3 separate regions of the Homo sapiens genome follow, and regions 2 and 3 are each linked to region 1. Evidence: promoter capture Hi-C in 16 types of primary human blood cells and fetal thymus (Javierre and others, 2016). All regions are on one chromosome and are shown on one strand. The core of a region is centred on a gene start or on the middle of the fragment in contact, and the rest is flanking DNA. Distances in the headings are between cores, read along the strand shown. Region 1 holds the start of CMBL (carboxymethylenebutenolidase homolog). Region 2 overlaps MARCHF6 (membrane associated ring-CH-type finger 6). Region 3 overlaps MARCHF6 (membrane associated ring-CH-type finger 6).

Evidence for each region. Contacts are between HindIII fragments. The CHiCAGO score rates a contact against its expected background, and 5 or more counts as called.
Region 2: a fragment that was not itself captured here is called in contact with the fragment with the promoter of CMBL in region 1 in 4 of 17 cell types (erythroblasts, megakaryocytes, naive CD4 T cells and 1 more); the score reaches 10.9 in erythroblasts.
Region 3: a fragment that was not itself captured here is called in contact with the fragment with the promoter of CMBL in region 1 in 1 of 17 cell types (erythroblasts); the score reaches 6.2 in erythroblasts.

What each region holds. Positions count from the first base shown.
Region 1 is chr5:10,306,344-10,309,386 of GRCh38, reverse strand. CMBL (carboxymethylenebutenolidase homolog) reads left to right here and starts at 1,485. Exons shown (of 6, transcript NM_138809.4): 1 at 1,485-1,762. RefSeq lists an enhancer at 1,707-2,207. The HindIII fragment of the contact is 4,286 bases long and covers 1-2,899 here.
Region 2 is chr5:10,417,327-10,420,369 of GRCh38, reverse strand. It overlaps MARCHF6 (membrane associated ring-CH-type finger 6), which reads right to left. Exons shown (of 26, transcript NM_005885.4): 22 at 2,966-3,043. Among named protein-coding and RNA genes, the nearest start is that of MIR10397, 16 kb to the right of the region's middle. The HindIII fragment of the contact is 7,264 bases long and covers 1-3,043 here.
Region 3 is chr5:10,399,390-10,402,432 of GRCh38, reverse strand. MARCHF6 (membrane associated ring-CH-type finger 6) reads right to left here. Exons shown (of 26, transcript NM_005885.4): 11 at 1,591-1,649; 12 at 294-374; 13 at 1-49. MIR10397 (microRNA 10397) reads right to left here and starts at 69; the gene lies at 2-69. RefSeq lists an enhancer at 1,367-1,416. The HindIII fragment of the contact is 4,451 bases long and covers 1-3,043 here.

The DNA of each region.
Region 1 (3,043 bases), core at 236-2,735:
TGCTTGAACCCGAGAGGCGGAGGTTGCAGAGAGCCGAGATGGGACCACTGCACTCCAGCCTGGGCGACACAGCGAGACTCTGTCTCAAAAACAGCAACAGCAACAACAACAACAAAAACATCATAGATAGACTTGGGTAGCTTAAACAACATTTATTTCTTATAGTTCTGGAAGTTGGAAGTCTGGGATGGGCCAGCAGGATTGGGTTCTTGGTGAGTATCCTCTTCCTGGCATACAGATGAGGAAGCAAGCTCCCTTGCCTCTTTTTGTAACGGCACAAATCCCATTCTTGGGGGCTCCACCCTCATGACCTAAGCATCTCCCAAAGGCCCCGCCTCCAAATACCACCATGGGCGGGGTGGTTAGGATTTCAACGTACAAATTTTGGAGGGGACACAAACATTCAGTCCATAACAACACCTTTGCAGTGGGGATGGCAGGAAGTGCGGCCACCACGGTGCAATGGCTTTTTAATGTGCCCATTTGTCCAGGCTGAGCTATATTCCTAGAATTCCCTTTTCCTGTATGTTTCCAGTTTGAGTGAGCCACAGGGGTGTGCTTCTGCAGCCAAGTTGAAGCTGTTGTCATAACCTTGGGCAGATGACCAGAGAAAATACGAAGGAGGCAAGTATGAAACGTGTATTAATTTCTTTTTTAAAAAAAGGCTTAATTTGGGGCTGGGGCCGGGTGCGGCGGCTCACGCCTGTAATCTCGGCAGTTTGGGAGGCCGAAGCAGGTGGAACACTTGAGGTCAGGAGTTCGAGACCAGCCTGGCCAACACGGTAAAACTCCGTCTCTATTGAAAACACAAAAATTAGCTGGGCGTGGTGGCGCGTGCCTATAATCCCAGCTACTGGGGAAGCTGAGGCAGGAGAATCACTTGAATCCGGGAGGTGGAGGTTGCAGTGAGGTTGAGGTTGAGATCGTGCCACTGCACTCCAGCCTCGGCAACAGGGTTAGACTCCATCTCAAAAAAAAAAAAAAAAAAAAAAAAAATTGTGGCTGGGCATGGTGGCTCACACCTGTAATCCCAGCACTTTGGGAGGCTGAAGGGGAGGATCACTTGAAGCCAGGAGTTCGAGGCTCCAGTGATCTATGATTGTGTCACTGCACTCCAGCCTGGGTGACAGAATAAGACCCTATCTCTAAAATAAAATAAAATAAAATAAAATAAAATAAAATAAAATAAACAAAAAATAGCTTAATTTGTATTTACAACAGAAGTTACTTGTCTTGGAAGCCAGGCACGCACGTAAATCTCACAGAAGGCTGGCTGTCTTCCTTCTCCTGGCCTCCCTGCCTCCTCCCTCAAGGCTGCCTGATTCTCTTCTCCCTTCCTCTCTGCGGTTCCCTCCCTCCCACCCCCTCTCCCTGCACCTTTCTTTATCTTGGAGCCTCTCCCATCTCTCCCTCCCTCTTCCTCCCTACCCCACCCTCCGACCACCCCACTTCTTCCCCTCCCCTCACACTTCCCTCCCTCCCTTCTCTCGTCTCCTCCCCACTGCGCCTCCCTCCCTCCTGGCCTTCCTTCCCTTCCCCGACTTTGCAGATTTCTCTTCCCCCAGGCCTCCCTCCTCCACCTCTCCGCCCCCTCCGGGCTTGGCTCTCCCAGGAGGCTACGACTGGAGCCACTGGTCCCGCAGGATCCCCGCGTCCTCGGTCGCCGCGTCCACGTCCCTCTCGCGTCCCCGCCCGGCGCCACGCCGCCTCCTCTGGGTTCGGCCTCCGCGCGGTGCAGCGCAGTCTCAGGCCGCGGGACAAGGTACGTGCGCGTCCCCGGGGCACACAAGCCCACACAAGCCCGGGCCCCGCTCCTCTGAACTCCCGCGTGTGTTCTGACTATGGCAAAGAAGGTCTTTGCCGCGTGCACGGGTAAGGAACTTCCCATAGTCCGTTTTCAGAAGCTGACTTTCATAAAAGTGATACGTTGTCCTTGCAGAACAGCAGCCTCCACGATCCCATGCGTCCGAAGCAGCCGCTGTTTACATTTTGGTATTTTCCTGTAGGTGTTTCGCCATGCATTTTAAAGACATAGTGGAAATCACACCGTATGCAAACTTGCGTTCGTTTTGGCCATTTAGCACGGAGGAGCCTTTCCACCATGCCGTTAAATACTCCTTGTAACTCTCTTCCTGCAGTGAGACATTCTGGTTGTAGCGTTTTTACTAATATAAAACTATTAAAAAACTGAGCATATTTGCAACTAAATCAGCATCCACATTCGACAGCTTTTCTTTAGGGTGGGTATTAAGAAGAGAGGTGCTGGGTCTATGGATCTAAGAGTGGGACATCCTAAATGCTGGGTAGGTGTGCCAGGAACGACTGGACAGTTTACACCCCACAGCCATGTGGGTCGGGCAGGCCTTGGAAACACTGGGCACTGAGATTTATGTCCACTTGCTGATGGAAGATGCCACCTGTTGTTTTCAAAGCCCATTTAAAATAAAGTGGTTAGTAATGAGCCTCGCCGGTATCCGGGGAATCCTGTCCAGGCCTGGGAACCCTATCCAGGCCTAGGAACAGCCAGAGAAAAAGCAGATTCTGCAGGGGCGTCGTTGGCATGTCTAAGAGGGCCATTGTGGGCTCATCCAGGTAGCTTCCTAATTCATGCTATCTCGACCATAGACACTTGGAAAATACAAGCATGGCTGCTGAAAAATAAATATTTGGAGAAGTTTGATGTTTGTAGAATCATCTAAGGATAAGTACTGGCCCTGCCTTCCCTGCTGCAAGATTGAAAATCACTTGCCATGCAAGTTCCTACAATGTTTAAGCAGTAAAGGAGAAACCTCCTGCCTTTCCCATTAGACCCCACTTTCCTGTGTTGTCTTGGGGTCCTCTGTAACCCTGAGCCCTGGATGCACTTCCACGTGGTTTCTATTTCTAAATTTCTAAAGCTTCCAGAAATGTATTCCTCCCTTCTCTCCTCTCCTCCCCGCTGCGCCTCCCTCCCTCCTGGCCTTCCCTTCCCCTACTTTGCAGACCTCTCTTCCCCCAGACCTCCCTCCTCCTCCTCTCTGCCCCCTCCGGGCTCAGGCTCTCC
Region 2 (3,043 bases), core at 283-2,782, 110 kb before region 1:
ACCACTTTCACACTGCAATGTAACATACCTGCAAATTATTTTCCCATCATGTGGTAGGGGGTCTATGTCCTCTTCCCTTGAATCTTAGCCAACATTTGTTACTTGCTTATACCCAGTAAAATGTACTGAAAAGTGATGTTGTAGGCCTTCTGACATGGGGTCATTAAAGATGATGCAGCTTCTTGTTTGTGGGGTCACTCATTTCCCTGAACTACAACGTAAGAAGCCCAAATACCTTGAGGTTACTTAGCTATGAAGCAGCCCAGGCACATATAGGAGCTCCAGTCAACAGCCCCAGATGGGTAGCAACCAACAACAAGCATCAACTCTCACACTGTTAAGTGATCACTGACTGGGTTAGGGTATTATCAGCCTGACCCCTCCACTAGTTGTGTGTTTCCAGCCAAATGATTCCATCCATAACTGTCAAATCATTCCCAGCCATTGAATCTTCCCAGCTGAGTCCCAGATAGCACAAAGCAGAGGCAAAGTGATATGCCCTGTCTTAATATCTGACCCACAGACTCTATGGACAAAATTAAAATGGTTGTTTTAAGCTGCAAAGTTGCGGGATAACTTGTTACACAGCAATAGCAACTGAAGACTGATCAACCTTTCATCTGTTGGGTTCAACATCCATTAACAATCCTTGCTATAATCAATTATTTTGTTAGGTATTGCAAAATAGTATTTTTCTAATCGTGTTAATCTCTCTACCTTTATTTGCTGGCATTTTTCTGTAAAAAAAAAAAAAAAAGGTAGCTCTTTCCTTCAATTACAGATACTATTTGACTACTCTGGAATACGGCTCTTACAGAAAGGCATAACATATGCTTAATTAGATCCTCCTCAACTTACAATGATGTTAGGTCCAGATAAACCCATCTGTAATTGAAAACACTGTAAGTCAAAAATGCATTTAATACATCTAACCTACCGAACATCATAGCTTAGCCCAGCCTATCACAATGCGCTCGGAACATTTACATTAGCCTATAGTTGGGCAAAAACTTCTAACACAAAACCTATTTTATTTTTTGCCTTGTAGTATAACTGAGGCCTAACAAGCCTACGTAATTTTATAATTACGTAGTGACTATCTCATGCAATTTACTGAATACTATACTGAAAGTGAAAAACAGAATAGCTGTAGAAGTACTCAAAGTACAGTTTCTGCTGAATGTGTATCGCTTTCAACCATCAAAAAGTTAAAAAGTCATAAATCAAAACACAAGTCAGTTCTGTACTTCTTTGTATTACTTATTTCTCACCTATTCTAGTCTATGAACCAGACTAGAAAGGAGGCAGTTCCCCACATATGCATGCCTTGTCTCAAGCCAGGTCTGCCCATCTCCCTCCTGGAATATACTTCTTCCTTTCTTACCCACTTCTCTGTTCTCTACTAGTTAGGTTGGCTTAGATACTATCTCTTATGGAACACCATACCTGAAACTCCCAAAGCTAGATTAAATGTCTCTCCTACACAATGCCACAGTTCCTTGTGCTTCCCCTAATCACACCACACAACACCTGTGTACCTGTCTAGCTTTCCCATCAGAGTGTGTAAATTCCTCAGGAAAATTACTGCACTAGCCTCATTTTCATCTGGGTGATACAATCCAGGGTGTGGGTACACCATTAAAAGCACTTAAATAAAAATTTTCGGGTAAATGAAGTTTGTGGAGGTTCTCCATCTGGAAAGCAGAAAAAGGGAAATACGGGCCAAATAATTTTCATTTTCTGAAAAATCCATTGCAATATACTAACAGATAAAAACAAAGCTAAAAAGCCTTTGAATGACTGAAGTCAATACCTAGCTCTTTTCCCCCAATACCTACTAAGAACTTGAGATCTTAATTCTATGATGTTAAAAACCTCAGGCTCTAAATACAATAGAAAAGTTCCATTTCTTTTTCCATGAGCTTTAAGACCTTTGCTGTGACTTACATGGGTTCCCTCAGGATGCTCTTGGTTTTTTTTTTTTTTTTGGAGACAGGGTCTCACTCTTGTCGCCCGGGCTGGAGTGCAGTAGCATGATCTCAGCTCACTGCAACCGCGGCCTCCCAGGCTCAAGAGATCCTCCCACCTCAGCCTCTCGAGTAGCTGGGACCACATGCCCACACCACCACGCTTGGCTAATTTTTTGTATTTTGGGTAGAGATGGGATTTCACCATGTTGTCCAGGCTAGTCTTCAACTCCTGAGCTCAGGTGATCCACCCACCTTGGCCTCCCAAAGTGCTGTGATTGCAGGCATAAGCCGCTGCACCCAGCCAGGATACTCTTTTTAATGAATCTGTGACTTTGTGGGAAAACATGCTATAATAATTCAAAAGTATTAAAGCCTCCAAGTCAAAAGGAGTAAGACAATTCACCCTACCTCAAAGGTGAACAAAAATCAATGACTATTAATTTGTATTTTCAAGTATTAGAGAAGACTAAATGGTTAGTAACATTTTAACCTATAAAGTAAGCACTTTTAAAGGAGTTATAAGACCTGCATATTCTGAAAGATTAAAGAGCATTAAACAATTTTATAAGAGTTCCTAGAATTAAAAAAAAAATTAGTCTTTCTAAACCAGCTGCTTAAAATCACCTAAAATAATTAAAAATTATATTTTTTTCCTTTTGTCTTTTTTTTTTTTTTTTTTTTTGGACAGAGGCTCTTACTCTGTTGCCCAGGCTACAGTGCAGTGTCATGAACATGGCTCACTTCAGCCTCAACCTCCTGTGATCCTCTCACCTTTGCCTCCCAAGCAGCTGGGACCAGACGCATGAGCCAATTTTTTATAGAGACTAGGTCTTGCCATGCTGCCCAGGCTGGTCTCGAACTCCTGGGTGCAAGCAGTCCTCCCACCTCAGCCTCCCAAAGTGCTAGATTATAGGCGTAAGCCCCATGCCTGGCTAGGATTATTTTCTGATCTCAAATCCTTAATGAAATAACATGAGCAAAAGACATACATTTACCTGCCATGGATAAAAAAGAGGAGTCTGATCCAAGGGAACCCTCAGGGGAGCCACAATGACCAGCTCAAACAGGAGCCC
Region 3 (3,043 bases), core at 217-2,716, 93 kb before region 1:
CTCCCAGTAAGCGACGAGATCTATGAAATTTCACAAGAGTTGCCAAGCCCTACAGCATCAGGTCAAGGAAAAACTGAGTATTTAAAGGTACAATGAAACAGGTAACTACTTAGCCAACATTTAGTATTTTTTGACAGAATTAATTTATTTCACATTTTGTCCACACTGACCCTTACTGCAAATACCTACAACTTTTACTAAGAGGACAAGGATAGACAAGTTTCGCCATTAATGAAGAGTTCTTTGGTATGAATAATATTAGTGTACACCCAAGTTGGTTCATTAAAGGATACATGACAAATTATCAGTGTTATTGCTAAAAGTATATACCCAACTATGGTTGTGATTAGGCCTTCAAAATGAGATGCTTGGACCTGGAAATAAGAAAAAAGTAAATAAAATTTAATTTTACAACATGTTCTACACCCCGGTTTTCCCATATTAAACAATCTAAATGACTAAAAGAGAATTGTTGAGACAATTTATAACCAGGAAACAACTGTAAAATCTGCTTTGGATGACATCTCTGAAAACCAAATTCTCTCACTGACTGTTATATATTACTAAAAAATGAAGAAAAATTAAATAACACTTTACCCAAGGAGACAAAATAACAGTAGAGTGAATTAAATTTTACAAAAACAAGAGCACTGTAATACAACAGCCTGCCCTCTACTCTCACTCTAAAGCAGATTTGCTAAAGGCTAACCACTGAAAGCAGGAACACACTGCCCAAGTCACCCACCAGCTGGGTAATATCCTAGCCACCTCATTTCCTACCACTAGAAGTAACTGTTCAAGTTTCCCTTGCTCTGCAAATCTGTCCCATTCTCAACTTATAGAAAGAATTTTGAAAGTAACAGTGCCTGTCGGTATTTTTTGATTCCTGAGTTTCAGATAGCAAGTGGCAAAAGTTTGGAAAGTCAAAATTTTTCAAAACACTTACCTGAACCTTTCAAGTTCTTGCATTCAACTAGTGAGAATCAGAGGTGTACTAAATATGAGAAGACTTCAGAACGTGATCTCTCAGATCTCAAATATACAAACTGAGCATATGATCCCAGATAGTCAGCTTTTCCATAAAAGACTAAATTGTTCTAGGGCCCCAACAGAGAAGTAATAATCCTTCCAAAATTTATTTACCTCTGGAAAATACTGATAAAATGTCAAAACTAAAGCACTCTAGAAAACACTACAACCCGTCATTCCAAAATATTCTACCCTTTTTAAATTGATTGATATATTGTTACTTTTCTAAATTCAGCAGGGGGCACCTGGGGAAAGGGAAAGAAGAGAACATACAGGTTCTTGAGATGGACAGAAAATCAGCCTGTGGGAAACTTTCCCACGGTATGCCTCAGGCCCACCCAGCTGACTGGATTTCAGAGCACATTTTCATTAGTTGGCAACATGACCACTATCTCTTGAGCCACTGTTATTTTTTTTAAAAAAGAATGAGACGGTATTGCCTAACTATTCCCTTGCATAATGCCAATGAAGAAATGATGTAACTCTTTAGAATACTATTTTATTAATAATCACATTTGGGAGTAATGAATGAAAGTAACTTTGTAAAAGTATTATACTCACGTGTTCTTCAAATCCCAAACCAACAAGGGAGAAATGACCAATATGGTAAGGGCAAAATGCTAAAAAGGGGGAAAAAATTCCATGAAAACTCCGACATCAAAACAATGAACACTCCTACTACAATTCCCCACTAAAAGGAACTAGGGCTTCTTGGAGAAATGAAAGATTCCAGAACTAGGCTAAAAATACACTGCCTAGGACATTCTCTGTAACTAGAGAACAACAAAGCTATTAAGGTCTAATAGGGCCATGCCAAATCAACACAGAAACCATTGTGAAAACAGGCCAAAGAGAGGATAATATGAGCATCAAAAAGAATAATGACCAAAACTGATGGAAAAACACTGAACATACACAAATCCATGAGTTTATGATGCTCAAAAAAGGAAAAGTCCAAAATAATAATCACGAAAAGAGAAAAAGCAACATCAAAGAAAACACTTTGATGTTTTGGAAGCAGTTAGCACACCCATGTGAATAGTTAATACACCAATTCCTTATTCTGAAAACCAAAATTAATGGGAAAAATATGAGCATCTGTCCTACTTGCCCCGGACAGACAGGTTTGGGTTGACTGAATAGTCCCAAATTGATAAGAATTTCTTCTTCTTTCAGAAAAGTCAGCCAATAAATATAAAAAATGACTGTTTAAAATATCACTCCCAACAGATTATTTTATAATGGTAAAGGGAAAAACAAAACCTAAGATTAGAGGCCCAGGTTGATATCAGCTGAATCCAGTGATAAAAGTGGATAATCCAACATCATGTATCTCAGCTCCTCACATATACTATTAATAGGCACAGTGTGACCAGTGATGGATTTGTCCCAGATGTATTCAACCTGAATCTAATAAGGCCCTTAGATCTGACTTCCAGTTTAAGAGAAATATGGGAGACAAAGGATAAAGGCAGAGGACATCCAGGAAGCAGATGGACAGATGTAAAACATGACATGCTGCAAGAACAGTTAACCTAATCCCAGCAACAAATCAATGGCCAAATAGGGTGAGTTGGGGGAAGCAAAGAGAAGAGTACTCTAGATTAAAAGACTAATAACTTATAACTTAACAACTAAAAGTAATATGTGGACCTTATTTGGGTCTTCATTCAAAGAAACCAACTGCAAAATGGTATGTAAGGGACAACCCAGAGAGTTTGAATATGATGGATTATTAGGAAATACCAAATTCTAGTAATTTTGTAAGGTGAGATAATGGCATTATAGCTAAGTATGAAAGTATTTTTAAAACCTTTATAGCAAGAGAATTTTTATAGTCTTCTTTTTCCTCAAGTCTTTCTGGCTAAATTTTACTTCATTCCTAATAATAAAATATAGTTATCTTTTCTTTATGGTAGAAATAAATCGACAGCGCAGTAGATTACCAGGGGAGTGGGAAACTCAATCATGAAGACAGAAGTCAGAGTGAACCTACTAGGGATCTGGCCTCTAA